Regions from separate parts of the Homo sapiens genome. Here all the other regions are linked to region 1. The links are contacts of gene promoters, found by promoter capture Hi-C in blood cells and fetal thymus (Javierre and others, 2016). All regions are on one chromosome and are shown on one strand. Each heading gives the region's core, a stretch centred on a gene start or on the middle of the fragment in contact. The rest is flanking DNA. Distances are from core to core; before and after follow the strand shown. Region 1 holds the start of EVA1C (eva-1 homolog C). Region 2 has its middle 55 kb from the start of TCP10L. Region 3 overlaps EVA1C (eva-1 homolog C). Region 4 overlaps EVA1C (eva-1 homolog C).

What was found. Contacts are between HindIII fragments. The CHiCAGO score rates a contact against its expected background, and 5 or more counts as called.
Region 2: a fragment that was not itself captured here is called in contact with the fragment with the promoter of EVA1C in region 1 in 1 of 17 cell types (megakaryocytes); the score reaches 5.0 in megakaryocytes.
Region 3: a fragment that was not itself captured here is called in contact with the fragment with the promoter of EVA1C in region 1 in 2 of 17 cell types (megakaryocytes and endothelial precursors); the score reaches 9.0 in megakaryocytes.
Region 4: a contact is called between a fragment that was not itself captured here and the fragment with the promoter of EVA1C in region 1, in 1 of 17 cell types (endothelial precursors). The highest score is 7.0, in endothelial precursors.

The regions. Positions count from the first base shown.
Region 1 is chr21:32,410,968-32,414,270 of GRCh38, reverse strand. It overlaps EVA1C (eva-1 homolog C), which reads right to left and starts at 1,565. Exons shown (of 8, transcript NM_058187.5): 1 at 1,258-1,565. The coding sequence starts at 1,417. The HindIII fragment of the contact is 8,620 bases long and covers 1-3,303 here.
Region 2 is chr21:32,528,375-32,531,677 of GRCh38, reverse strand. No RefSeq gene overlaps it. Among named protein-coding and RNA genes, the nearest start is that of TCP10L, 55 kb to the left of the region's middle. The HindIII fragment of the contact is 443 bases long and covers 1,457-1,899 here.
Region 3 is chr21:32,512,010-32,515,312 of GRCh38, reverse strand. It overlaps EVA1C (eva-1 homolog C), which reads right to left. Exons shown (of 8, transcript NM_058187.5): 8 at 1-499. The coding sequence ends at 123. Among named protein-coding and RNA genes, the nearest start is that of TCP10L, 72 kb to the left of the region's middle. The HindIII fragment of the contact is 1,686 bases long and covers 684-2,369 here.
Region 4 is chr21:32,496,050-32,499,352 of GRCh38, reverse strand. The region is part of intron 5 of EVA1C (eva-1 homolog C); the gene reads right to left. It also overlaps the pseudogene EXOSC3P1. Among named protein-coding and RNA genes, the nearest start is that of EVA1C, 85 kb to the right of the region's middle. RefSeq lists a silencer at 1,303-1,471. The HindIII fragment of the contact is 820 bases long and covers 1,283-2,102 here.

The sequences.
Region 1 (3,303 bases), core at 316-2,815:
CCACAACTCTTACCACAGAGTTCTGATCCTGGGATGCTTGATTTTAAGGGCCGTGGGTGGCTTGCCAAATAGGCCTTATCTTGGCTTCCTTTGCTAGGTAGGAATACTGCCTTGATATTACATATTCAAAGCAAAGAACCTCTGACCTAAGGGCTCTCCACTAACAATGACATTCTCTGTAAGTAAACTAGAACCCCATCTCAACTTCTGGTTTGCCCTTGTTCTTTGCTATGTACTAGCCTACTGCACAAACAGGACTGAGGAGGACTCCCTTTACCACCATTATGTTGCAAAAGACTCTGCACTGAGGACCCGATAGGGACCGACTGTGCAAAGCCTGAACTTGGCAGAAGATCCCTGGAGAAGGAGGAGTATGGGGCTCAGAGCTGCTCCCTAAGCTGGGCTGGGGAAGGCTGAAGGCCTCCAGCCTTGCCAGAGGGAGATCCAGGTGTGCTTCAGCGGCAAGGACATGTGTTACCTTAAGCAACTGCAGCGCTAACTTAAGCATGTGCTCCTATGGCTATCGTCAACCTAGAAATCCCTTTCACTTTGGGGCGTCACACCTGTAAGCTCAGAACTATCTGAGATCCGCTGCGAGAGCCTGGATCACGATTCCCAAAAAGAAAAGCCTCCTAGTTTATTCGAGAGTAGGAAGTCATTATTTTCTGTGAAGGAAACTGGAATTGGAGAGGGAGGACCCTGGTACACTTTGGCAGAGAGGCTCCTCTCTCTTATCTAAGTATCTCCTCATCCCTCACTGCCTTTCCACCAGACCTCCAGTCCCCGCGGGCTTCCCTTTCTACCTGCCAATGTGGACTCGAGGTCAAGTGTCCCCTGGGCTAGTCTCCTTACATGGGCAAACGGGCTACGCGGGTGACAAACGCGGCGCAACGCCTCCGACCACAACACGTGTATTTTACAGCGCTGGGCGCGGCACAGGGCTCAGTTTAAGGAGCCTCCATAGAACGAGCGTGGCTCAGGACCAGGTCCCTAATGCTAGGAAATTGACGAGGTCAACAGCAGGGCGAGAAACTCTGAATACATTACACACCCTTCCTTCTTGGGAGTGGCAGTCCCCCGTCGCCACTTCACTCGCAGCCATCTATATGCCAAGGGCTCACACCAGACAAGTGTCTGTGAGCACGCCTCAACTTTAATCCTACCCCGCCGTGTCCACTGGTGCGGCTGCCCCCAGTCGAGGGTTCACCTGGGCGCTCCGCGGTGCCGGGGGCACACAGCCAGGGAGGGCGCTCTTACCAGAGAAGTCGGTGAGCGCTGAGATCTCTTTGGAGCAGACCAGGACAGTGCAGTAGAAGAGGCGCAGGAGCTGCCCCGGCGGCTCTACCTGCCGGCGGAGGCCGGGATGCTGCACGGGCTGGGGCGTCGGCGGTTGGCGTGCGCGTCCCGGCAGAAGCATCGTGCGCTGCGCGGCGGGGCGGAGGCGCAGGCCCGGGACGCGCTGGGGGTCGCAGGGCTAAGGACGGCGTCACATGGCGGGGAGAATCGATGGCCAGCGGCTCCGCGGCCCCCCGCCGCCTCCCTGCCCAGGCTGCCAGAGCCTCCTCCCCTGCGCGGGCCAGCCCAGGCGCCCCAGCAAAGGGGAGGGGGCGGAGAACTGGGGCGGGGCGAGGATCCCCGAAAAGGATCCGCGTAGTTTCCCCGAGAGGAAATCTCCGTTGCCGCCGTGCCGGAGGAAGCGAGGGGGGCCGTAGGGAAAGCGCAGCCTTCGCGCGCCCCGCGGCTGCCCAGGCCGATCCCTGGCGCGCTGCCCACCGCGGAGGGCGCCCCCAGTAGCGCGCCCCGGGCCGCGCACCTTGAGCGCCTTCCACACCCGGGAAACAGCCGGGCACCCGTGGCCCTGCCCGCGCTGGCCGGGTGCCAGCCTCGCCCTGGCGGCAGAAGGAGCGCGGCCGGTGCCCGTGACGCACTTTGGAGCCAGCGCCGCGCGTGCAGCTGGGGCGCCCCCGGGGCGGGGCCGATCGGGGGCCGCAGGAAGGTGGGGTCCTGGAGGCGTGGGATCGCACCGCTGCCATCCCCGCCACCCGCCGCGCGCCACGTGCAGTCACCCGGCACATACAGTTATCGCCATTCCACAGAAGAGGAGACTGAGCCCCGGCGCCGTGCCCAAGCTCTCGCAGCCAGGACGGCGACGAGCTGGAGGTCTCAAAACCGGTCAGATGGCTCCGGAGCCGGGATCTTTAGCTCCAGCTCGGCTTCCTTTGGGTGCTGGTTGTCCGCAGCGCTGGGGGATCTGACACTGCACCGGCGCAAACAGCCGCCGAGCGCTAATAATTGGGCTTTGTTTTAAAGTGGGCCACAGCATCTTTCTGAACCTCTAGACTGTGCGCGGGGTGACCCACGTTCGGACGCCCAGCCAGTGGCCTAGGAGTGGCCTGCGTAGCCCCAACTCAAGGGTATCGAGGACAAGTGCGCGAGGGGCTCCGTGGCTGCTTGCCGGGTGCGGGTACCTGGCGCCCAGCGACCCAAACCCTATGGATCGCGCGGGGCCGGCGGAAGGGAGGAGGGCGGGCGCTAGGCACACAGTGTTCCCGAACCCGGCGGGAGGGCCTGCCAAGTTCGCGGCGGGCGTGACGCGGAAACGTAGATAATGAGGCCCAGGGCGGGGCCGGACGCACTGCCCCGCGGGCTCCAGAGCTGCGAACGCCCCAGAGTGTGCAGGGAGGCCTGCAGAAAGAAAATGCGGCTGAGGGTCCCCGTGGGACCCACTCAGAGGTGGGCCGTAAAGATCCCGGAAGGGTGGATGGCATTAGATACCACCTAGTACTCCAGCAAGGGCTGGGTCACCGAATTGGGATCTCGGCCTCTTCTTCCAGTCTGGGGAAAAGTGTGTTAAATGCTAAACATCAGTGTTTATCGAGTGAGGCCCAGCCTGTCTGGCATAATGATTTTTAAAATCTACATTCAAATATTAAATAAAAACTCAACCTCCCCAATAACATTTGAACATAAATATTAGTGTGCGCTCTCTAGGTTAGGGAAACTGAAGCTGGGAGTGTGGGTAAGGATGCCCAGCACTTAGGAGCCACAGGGTAAGTAATGTTTGTCCAAAACTCGGGTCCCTCCTGTACTTTCCATTCTGTCTGTTCATTCATCCAGTTTAGATATGAATTGGTACCAACGTGTGCCAGGTTCTGCGCTAGTGACTGACAGTGTTGGCACAGGGAGGCAGCCATGCTCCCGAGTCCTGGGAGTGGGCAGCACTGCCCTGTGGGTCTGCACTGGCTTCCAAATGTCTAAGTGGGCACTGTTACTCACTGTGACAGCATCCCCAGGCTTTCTTAC
Region 2 (3,303 bases), core at 429-2,928, 120 kb before region 1:
TTTTGTACTTTGGGTAGAGATAGGGTTTCACCATGTTGCCCAGGCTGGTCTCAAACTCCTGAGCTCAGCCTCCCAAAGTGCTGGCATTACAGGCATGAGCTGACATGCCCAGCCTACCAATTTTCACCTCACTTCATGTTGCATCTACATCACGAATTGTGCGCAATGCCAAATGCAGGTATTTGTGAGGGCTGTAGAAATCAAACCCTGTTTCCCATCCTAGCTCTAAAGTAACTAGCAACCACCTCTCACCTTCAGGATGGAGAGAGCTGACAATGGAGATTAAGGCTGAGATATGTGGCAATGAAGGGCTTCCTTAGATCAGCGGCAGAATGAGACGCAGGCAGCTGTGGCCAATCACAGGCCTCACCAACTGATGGAAGGTCCTGGGCTTTGCCTTCTTCATGTGAATATTCCTAGTGCCTGGCCTGGTCCCTGACAGAAAGCACTCCTTAAAAAGTAGCTGTTGTACTGAAGGAAACTGTTGTGGCAAAAATGCAAAAAGGAGTTGTATTAGTCCGTTTTCACACTGCTGATAAAGACATAGCCAAGACTGGGCAATTTACAAAAGAAAGAAGTTTATTAGACTTACAGTTCCACATGGCTGGGGAGGCCTCACAATCATGGCGGGAGGCAAGGAGGAGCAAGTCACATCTTACATGGATGGCGGCAGGCAAAGAGAGAGCTTGTGCCGAGAAACTTCCCCTTAAAAAGTGATCAGATCTCATGAGACTTATTCACTATCACGAGAACAGCACAGGAAAGACCAGCCCCCATGATTTAATTGCCTCCCACCGGGTCCCTCCCCCATCACATGGGAATTCAAGATGAGATTTGGGTGGGGACACAGCCAAACCGTAACAGGAGTGTGTTTGTGCATGTGTGTGTATCTGCATGTTCTGTGCATGTGTGTGTGTCTGCGTGCTCTGTGCATGTGTGTGTACCTATCTACATGTTCTGTGCATGCATGTGTCTGTATGTTCTGTGCATGGTGTGTGTGTGTCTATATGTGTATTGTATGTGCACCAGTGCCCACCTGCTCCTGGCTTTTTTGGTACCACCTCCAGGAATCTCTGCATCAACAGGTCTCCTGAGAGCTCACAGTTGGAAGCTGATGTGACTGGGCATAGTCAGTGTTCTTCAACTGATGCTGTGCCCTGGACCAGCTGAGAGCTGATGCAGAGGCTGCTCTGCAGGCCACCCTTCCTCTGGGGCAGCTTTGCGGGCCTCAGAGGTGGAGGTGCTCCAGGCACATCTACCCAAAAGCATCCTATTGGAGCCAGATTGCTGCATTCCAGGCCCCACCTAGTTGAGGTTATGTTAGCCGTCTGCCATCTTTACTGCTCTACTTCTTGTAGCCAGCTCTGGCTCATGGCAGCTGATGGTTAAACATTCAGGAATTTTTGCAAATTGGTTGTTAAACACAGTCACCATGAAATACTAAATTACAGAAGCTTACAATTAAATAGATTATATTAGGCACAAAGGCTGTCAATTCTCAAAACTCAACATTTCCTAATTATTTCACCTTATTTTACTATTGTCTTGAGGTCATTGACATTGATTGTACCTGTAGGGTAGAAACACTATATGAAGGACGTTGTGTTACACTCGCGTTGGCCAAGGAGGGAGTATTTACACCACAGAAATTGGCAGATGCTACAAATCAGCACTTCTCTGCCCACACCTGGGGTTGCTGGTTGTTACAGCTTTTCCAGCAACTCCTGGCCTCCACCCAGCATGGTGTCTGGCACAGAGCAGGGCTCAGCTCGTGCTTTGTACATACAGTTCCTTGAGTCATCCCAGTGTGAATGTGTCCCCTGCTTCTGGCTGGGGATCTGTGACTAGTCCATGCCTCGCCTTGTGCCACTTCCACTCTTGGGAGCAGCTCTGGAAGCTTCTGTGCTAGTTTCTGTGGCTGCCATAACTAATGACCACAAATGGTGTGGCTTAAAACAACAGAAATTTATTCTCTCCCAGTTCTGGGGGCCAGGGGTCTCAAATAAAGGTGTTGGCAGGGCTGTGCTCCCTCTGAAGACCAAGAAGGGGGTCCTGCCTTGCCTCTTCCGGCACCTGGTGGCCCCTGGCAATCCTTTGCACTTTTGGTTTGTGGCTGCGTCACTCCAGTCTCTGCCTCTCTAGTCACGTGGCATTCTTCTCTGTGTGTCTGTCTGTCTTCCCCCTTCTTAGAAAGCCGCCAGTCATTGGAGTTAGAGCCCATCAGTGCCACCTCATCTTAACTAATTATAACTGTGAAGACCCTGTCTCCAAATAAGGTCACATTCTGAGGTTCCAGGAAGACGTGTATTTGGGGGAGCAGTGTTCAACCTACTATGGAATCTCTGCCATAGAAACTGCAGGTGATGCTGTCCCTCTAAGGTCGTGAGGAAATTTCCAAGGGTTGCCTGACACCAGTCATGACCAATGAGCAAAAAGGCCCTCACTGAAAATGTTTGGCACTTTGCTTTTACAGTGACTTTGTGGACAGCAAGAGAGCGGCTCCACAATCATGTCCTCATGCCATGGGGTCATGGACCCTGGTGTCTCCCCCTCCGCTTTCCCCGACATGCACCCAAGTATGTTCTATTTGCAGTGCCTGCATCATTTTCTTTTTTAAATTTTTTAAGTTTTTTTTTTTTGAGACAGAGTCTCCGTCACCTAGGCTGGAGTGCAGTGGTGCAGTCTCGGCTCACTGCAACCTCCGCCTCCTGGGTTCAGCTTTTATTTATTTGTTTTTCTCTTTCTTCTTTTTTTATTTCAACAGTTTTTGGGGTACAGGTGGTTTTTTGTTACAAGGATAAGTTCTTCAGTGTTGATTTCTGAGATTTTAGTGAACCTGTCACCCAAGCAGTGTACACTCTACTCAATATGTAGCCTTTTATCCCTTACCCGCCTCCCAGCCTTTCCCCGCAAGTCCCCAAAGTCCATTATATCACCCATGCTTATGCATCCTCAGAGCTTAGCTCCCACTTTTTTTCTTTTTTTTTTGACAGGGTCTTGCTGTGTCACCCAGGCTGGAGTACAGTGGTGCAATTTCAGCTCACTGCAACCTCTGCCTCCTGGGCTCAAGGGATCCTCCCACCTCAGTCCCCAAAGTAGCTGGGATTACAGGCTTGTGCCACCATGCCTGGCTAATTTTTGTATTTTTTAGTAGAGACGGAGTGTCGCCATATTGGCCAGGCTGGTCTCGAACTCCTGACCTCAAGTGATCCGCCCGCCTTGGCCTCCCAAAGCACTGGGATTACAGATGTGAGCCACCACGCCCAGCCTAATTTTTAATTTTCGTGGATACGTGGGAGGTGT
Region 3 (3,303 bases), core at 277-2,776, 100 kb before region 1:
ACGAGTGTTGAATGACATGACGAATTCTCCTTCATAGAAGGTACAGGTGAACCAGAACTGGAGGGGCATTTGGGATCCTTCCTTCTTCAGAAAGTGCGATCGCATCAAGATGCATGTGGTTTTCAGTAGAACTGGCCCATGTTTCTTGGGAGCGAGGTGTCCAAACCACTGTTCATCCATATTTCCTGAATGATTTGCTCCCTGCGCTCAATCCTTTCTGCGAGCTCTGCAGCTTCTATGGAACTGTATATAGGATATGAAGTCCTACAGAACCCCGACAGTTCCCCTGGGAAATCAGACTCAGAGGGGTCCTCCTCCTCTTCTTCATCCTCGCTGTCCTCCTCGACCTTGTCACTTCCTGGCACCAGCTGCTCCCTCCCCAGCTGCAAGTCGCGGAAGTCCTTGGCACAGGACTCTCTGATGACCAGGGCGCACAGTGTGAGGGCCAGGCCGATGCAGACACTGGACACGAACAGCAGGGCAGCTCTCTCCGGGTGGGCTGCAGGAGGAAGAGAACATGTCAGGAGCTGGGAGGAGCTGGCAGACTCCACCAGTGCCAAGTCCCACAGAAACAGATGTCTGCCCAAGCAGGGGGCTAATGAAGAATGCCAGTCCAGCATCTTTGAGACTGTCTACACCAAAATAATCATATATCCCCACTGACATTTTTTTTCAAAAAAGCTTTTGCGCCTACGGAGTCAATATATGTATGTGTAGGAGAAAAACACACAGCAGAGGGGCTCAGGAGCCAGACTCCTCTGAGTTCAAACTCAGGTCTGCCACTCAGTAGCTGTGTGACTTTGGGCAAGTTTCATAACCTTTCTGTGCCTTAGTTTCCTCATCTGTAAAATGGGGCATATAGTATCTTCTATCACAGAGTCATTACAGTGAAATGAGTTAATTCCTATAAAGCTCTTAGAATATTCCCTGACACATAGTAAATGCTCAATAAAGTGCTGCTATTATTAGTAGTAGAAGTAGCTCATGAAGAATTAACTTATGTACGAAGTATATATGTGAACCTAAGTAATAATATAATAGATGTTAGCAAAACTTAATTCTGTCCTTTTTCAGATTAAAAAGTAAATATAAATATACAGTCATCCCTTGGTACCCGTGGGGGACTGGTTCCAGGACCCCTCCCCCACACTCCCAGGCTACCAAAATTCACGGACGCTTGAGTCACTTATATGAAATGGCACAGAATTTGCATAAAACCTAAGCACATTCTCCCCTATTCTTTAAATCACTTCTAGATTACTTGTAATAGCTAATGCAATGGAAATGCTAGGTAAGTAGTTGTTACCATGTATTGTTTTGGGAATAATGACAGGAGAAAAAATGTCTGTACATGTTTGGTAAAGATGCAACTATCCATTTTAAAAAGATATTTTCAGTCTGAGGTTGGTTGAACCCATAGATGAGGAATCCATGGATACAGAAGGCCAACTGTAATATAAAATACAAAAATATGCTGGGTGTCGTGGCTCACGCTGGTAATCCCAACACTTCGGGAGGCCAAGGTGGGTGGATTGCTTGAGTTCAGGGGTTCAAGACCAGCTTGGGCAACATGGTGAAACCCCATGTCTATTTAAAAAAATACCAAAATATATCTGGGCATGGTGGTGCGTGCTTGTAGTCCTAGCTACTAGGGAAGCTGAGGTGGGAGGATCACTTGAGCCTGGGAGGTCAAGATCATATCACCATACTCCAACCTAGGTAATAGTGTGAGACCCTGCCTCAAAAAAAAAAAAAAAAAAAGAAAAGAAAAATATTAAAATAAATAATATAAATATGTATATTATTTATAAATATTAATAATATAATAAGTATTGGCCGGGCACGGTGGCTCACGCCTGTAATCCCAGCACTTTGGGAGGCCGAGGCAGGAGATAACGAGGTCAGGAGATCGAGACCATCCTGGCTAACATGGTGAAACCCCGTCTGTACCAAAAGTACAAAAAAAAAACTAGCCGGGTGTGGTGGCGGGCGCCTGTAGTCGCAGCTACTCAGGAGGCTGAGGCAGGAGGATGGCGTGAACCCGAGAGGTGGAGCTTGCAGTGAGCCGAGATCACGCCACTGCACTCCAGCCTGGGCAATAGAGTGAGACTCCATCTCAAAAAAATAAATAAATAAAATAAAATAATATAGTAAGTATTATAATACTACTATAATGATATTATATCATTGTAAGTATTATAATACTTACAATAATATAGTAACAACTATATTACAATAATAACAACTATATTATTGTAAGTATTATAATGCTTATTATATTATTGTAAGTATTATAATACTTACTATATTATTGTAAGTATTATACAGATGGAAGCCTGTATACTGTAAGTAATATGCAGATCAAAGCTTCATCTCTCCCGACTTCACTTTCATCTTCCTCCCCTTTGAATTTCCCTCCTTTCCTCCCCATCCTGCAGCCCTCCTCTCCCCCGAAATCTTTGAGCCACTGTCCTCTCCAAACCCTCTCCTTCTGTGATGCTGTTAGGGCTTTCAAGGTGGGCCACAACTCAACTTCTCTGTCTTGGAAAATATAAACTTTGAGCCCCACTGCCAGTGATGCTGCCGACCTCAAGGAGTGCTGAGTGTGAGGAAGCTGAATCCCATCCATTTATAGTCTTTTCCAGCCACCCATGGTCAGGCCAGGGACAGATCTGGACAGAAACAATTCCATCCAGCTCAAGCCTCTGAGGTACAATGGTCATCCGTGGCCCCCTCCCCTCCTCTCCCAGTGGTGGTGTCGTGGGAGGGGCCGGGTACCCAGGGCAGACAGAGTAGGGTCACAGCAGAGCAATCAATTCCAGCAGTCAATTCCAGCAGCGACTTGAGCTATAAGTGAAGGAAGTCGAATGGGGACGTTTCAGGTTCCAAGAAGGGAGTAGGGTGCCACAGCCGGTAACTATGGACTTGCTACTGTACCTCTTTTTTCATATTTTGAGGATTCCTGGTGGACTGAATTAAATTACCCATAATCCTTAGGACATGAGACATTCTCTTCATTGGTCAATACATAGCCCTACTTTATGTCTAACGAATTACTTTTTAATACTGTAATTAGCACCAGTGCTATGAATGCACACCCGTATAGGAGCGAGGCCTTGACCACACCTGTGTCTAACCTGTGCTTCCCCATCCCCTTGCCTCCCCCTCAAGGTGACTACCACCTGAATTCCAAGCTCCTTACTCCCCTGTTTCCTTTTTTATATAGTTTTATTTTCCGTCTCTATGTATTCCTAAAATTTTATTTAAAGGGTATAATATTATAGGTAGTGTTGGAGACTTGGT
Region 4 (3,303 bases), core at 443-2,942, 85 kb before region 1:
TCCGGAGAGCTGAGCTCAGCTGCTGCAAATTGCTTTCTGCTTTAATTACCTCGCATTCATTTCTGGGCCCTGAGAAGGATGCAGAATCCTAGGAAGTGTCAGCTCTCCCTGCCAGGAGTGGTACTTCTTTCTCATGTCTGCCTCTTGGCTTGTTCTCAAACTATGGCTTCAGGAGGGCCTTGGCTCTTGGCAAATGCCAGAGGCTTTACAGTTTGAGAAAGAATCAGAATTTTGTAGAGGAGCTCAGAGGGGAAGGGCATTCTAGGATGCACTTTGCAGAATAACCAGGCAGTGAAAAGGTTAAATTGGCTGTGTATGACACAGGCCACTGCAGGGAATGTGCCCTTCTACTATGTGAAAATGGCTCTGATATCTGGAGAATCTTTTAGGACCTTTAAAATCACCGTTGTCAACACACTTGTCAGATTTTTGCATCTCCTTGATTCAAACTAGTTCCGAATGAGGTCGGGGACTGGGGTGTGATTGATCACCGTCCTGCTCCACTTCAGATATGTTGGTGAAAACACTAGGGACCACTCTTCATGGAGCTCCTACTGTGTGCAGGACCCTGTTCTCAGCAGTTTAAACCAGGGCCATCTTCCTCCTCATCAACACCTTTCCTCTCCCACTCAGCAACCTCAGCGTCTCGGCCCCTAGTGTGCAGCTAGTGTGCAGCTAGTGTGCATACCCTAGTGTTCACCCTACAGTATGGTTCTCTTTGGAAGAATTAAACCACCACCCCCAAGCTAAATTAGGCCCCCTCCACTGTTACAGTCTTCTGCCCTTTTCTAAAATAGCATTTGTCACAACAGGTCATGATGATGTGTCTGGCTATTTGGTTAATGCTTGCCTTTCTCCCTCAACTGCTCACCCCATGAAAACAGGACCATGTCTCTTTTTTTTTTTTTTTTTTGAGACAGAGTTTCACCCTTGTCACCCAAGCAGTGACGAGATCTCAGCTCACTGCCAACTCCGCCTCCCAGGTTCAAGTGATTCTCCTTGTCACAGCCTCCCAAGTAGCTGGGATTACAGGCATGCGCCATCATGCCCAGATAATTTTGTATTTTTAGTAGAGATGGGGTTTCACCATGTTTTCCAGGCTGGTCTCGAACTCTTGACCTCAGATGATGCGCCCGCCTCGGCCTCCCAAAGTGCTGGGATTACAGGCGTGAGCCACCGCACCTGGCCGTGTCTCTTTGTTTATTACAAAATCCCTGGCACCCAGCACAGCTCCTGACACAAAGAGCAATGTGCTGAATGAGTGACAGAAGGAAGAAAAGCTTGAACTGGGACATGTGACCCCCAGGCCCTGAAAGCTCACCTTCATCTCAGCATTAGTGATGTGGTTTGGCTCTGTGTCCCCACCCAAATCTCATAATTCCCACGTGTTGTGGGAGGGACCTGGTGGGAGGACCCTGTGGGAGATGATTGAATCTTAGGGGCGGGTCTTTCCCGGGCTGTTGTCTTGATAGTGAAAGGGACTCACGAGATCTGATGGTTTAAAAAATGAGAATTTCTCTGCACAACTCTCTTTTTGCCTGCCGCCATCCGCATAAGATGGGACTTGTTCCTCCTTGCCTTCCGCCATGACTGTGAGACCTCCTAGCCATGTGGAACTGTAAGTCCAATTAAACCCCCTTTTTTGTAAATTGCCTAGTCTCGGGTATGTCTTTATCAGCAGTGTGAAAATGGACTAATACAATTAGCTAAGAAGAGCCTCAGCTGTAGGAACTGTTCTTGCCTCATCCTTGAAAGCACACTAGAAACTGCACCTTTAAAAAAAATGTTTTAGTAAATGTTATTGTACAGAATAAAAAAATACATCATGATTCTGTAATGATTTTCTCTCCCACAAGAGCATGGGTGAAAATCAGTAATTTACTTATAAAAATATTTTAATTAGGACTCCAATAAGATAATATGTACCTTCATACCTTGTCTTCTGAATAACTAAATGGGGAGAAGTTCACCTGAAAAAAGTTTTCCCCAGGAAACCCATGGTTTCTTGGCTCAACGGACCCATTAAAAAAGTCCACCTATATCAACTTTCTGCCAATCTGGAGATTTGTTTTCTTTGATCTAATGTCATGTGTTCACAAGCTTCTAAAACATTTGCCAAAATTAAAGTCTGCTGGACGGTTTTTCCCTTAACCCATACTCTTCCATTCATTCCAAATACTATCTTCAGTGGATAGAGTTTTCCCACTTCCTGTTTGATTTCATGATCTGGAGCTAACAGCTTTCTAATGAAGCCCAGTCACTTTAAAAAGCAGACCATCCTGTCCAATGACATTCCTTCCATTGGCTCATCCATAGCTGTCAATACAGACCATCTCTGGTTCCATGTCTTTATTAGCAACCACAAATTGGCCATAGATGAGATCTCCAACCTGCACATTTGGTCTGTTTCTTTTAGTTGCACCTTCAAATGCCAAGTAAGACAAAGAAACTGGCTCACTCCCTCCAACATCAACTCTGAATATATCTCCAGATTTAGCTGTCACTATGCCAGTCACCTGGTCTCCTTTCACTAGAATATACTCCGTTCCCAGGGCTATGGCGGCCCCAGCCCAGCAGTGTCTCAGCTTTCCCGGTCCCCGGCCAAAACTACACCTTATTTGGAGGCTAAAGTTCTGCTTCTTATTCAACACTCTGATGAAGAGGCCTGAAGTTACTGGAACCTCAGTGTGACCCGTGTCCAGTCTACCGTCCTCCATTCTACCAGAGGAGCTATCCAAGGATGTACTCAAAGTGACCTTTTTGGCCTCTGGGGGAACCTCAGCCAAAATGGGCCCCATGCTACTTAGAGTTGCTTAGACATGACAGCAGGAATAAAGACAGAGCAGGTAAAGCCATCCCTCCTGTGATGTAAGAGTGGGTGCCATTATTTTGGTAATACATTTATGTAGTCACTTCATCATATCTATTGCAGCATTGATATTGCAGAGAACAACATTTTTAGTTCAGGATATAAAATTCTAAGGATGCAATGGAATATTATGATGCCACAAAAAGAAATAAAGTACTGAGACATGCTACAACATGTACGAACCTTGAAAACAGATGCTAAGTAAGGAAGCCAGACACAAAGCACCACACATTGTATGATTCCATTTCTAGGAAATGTCTAGAAGAGGCAAATCCATAAAGACAGAAAGTAGATGGGTGGTTGCCTGGGGATGGGGCAGGTGTAATGAATGGGTGGATTTGGTGGGCTGACTGCTAAGGGATACAGGGTTTCTTTTGGGGGGATGCGAATGTTCTTAAACTGATTGTGGTGATGGTAGCACAATTCTGTGCATA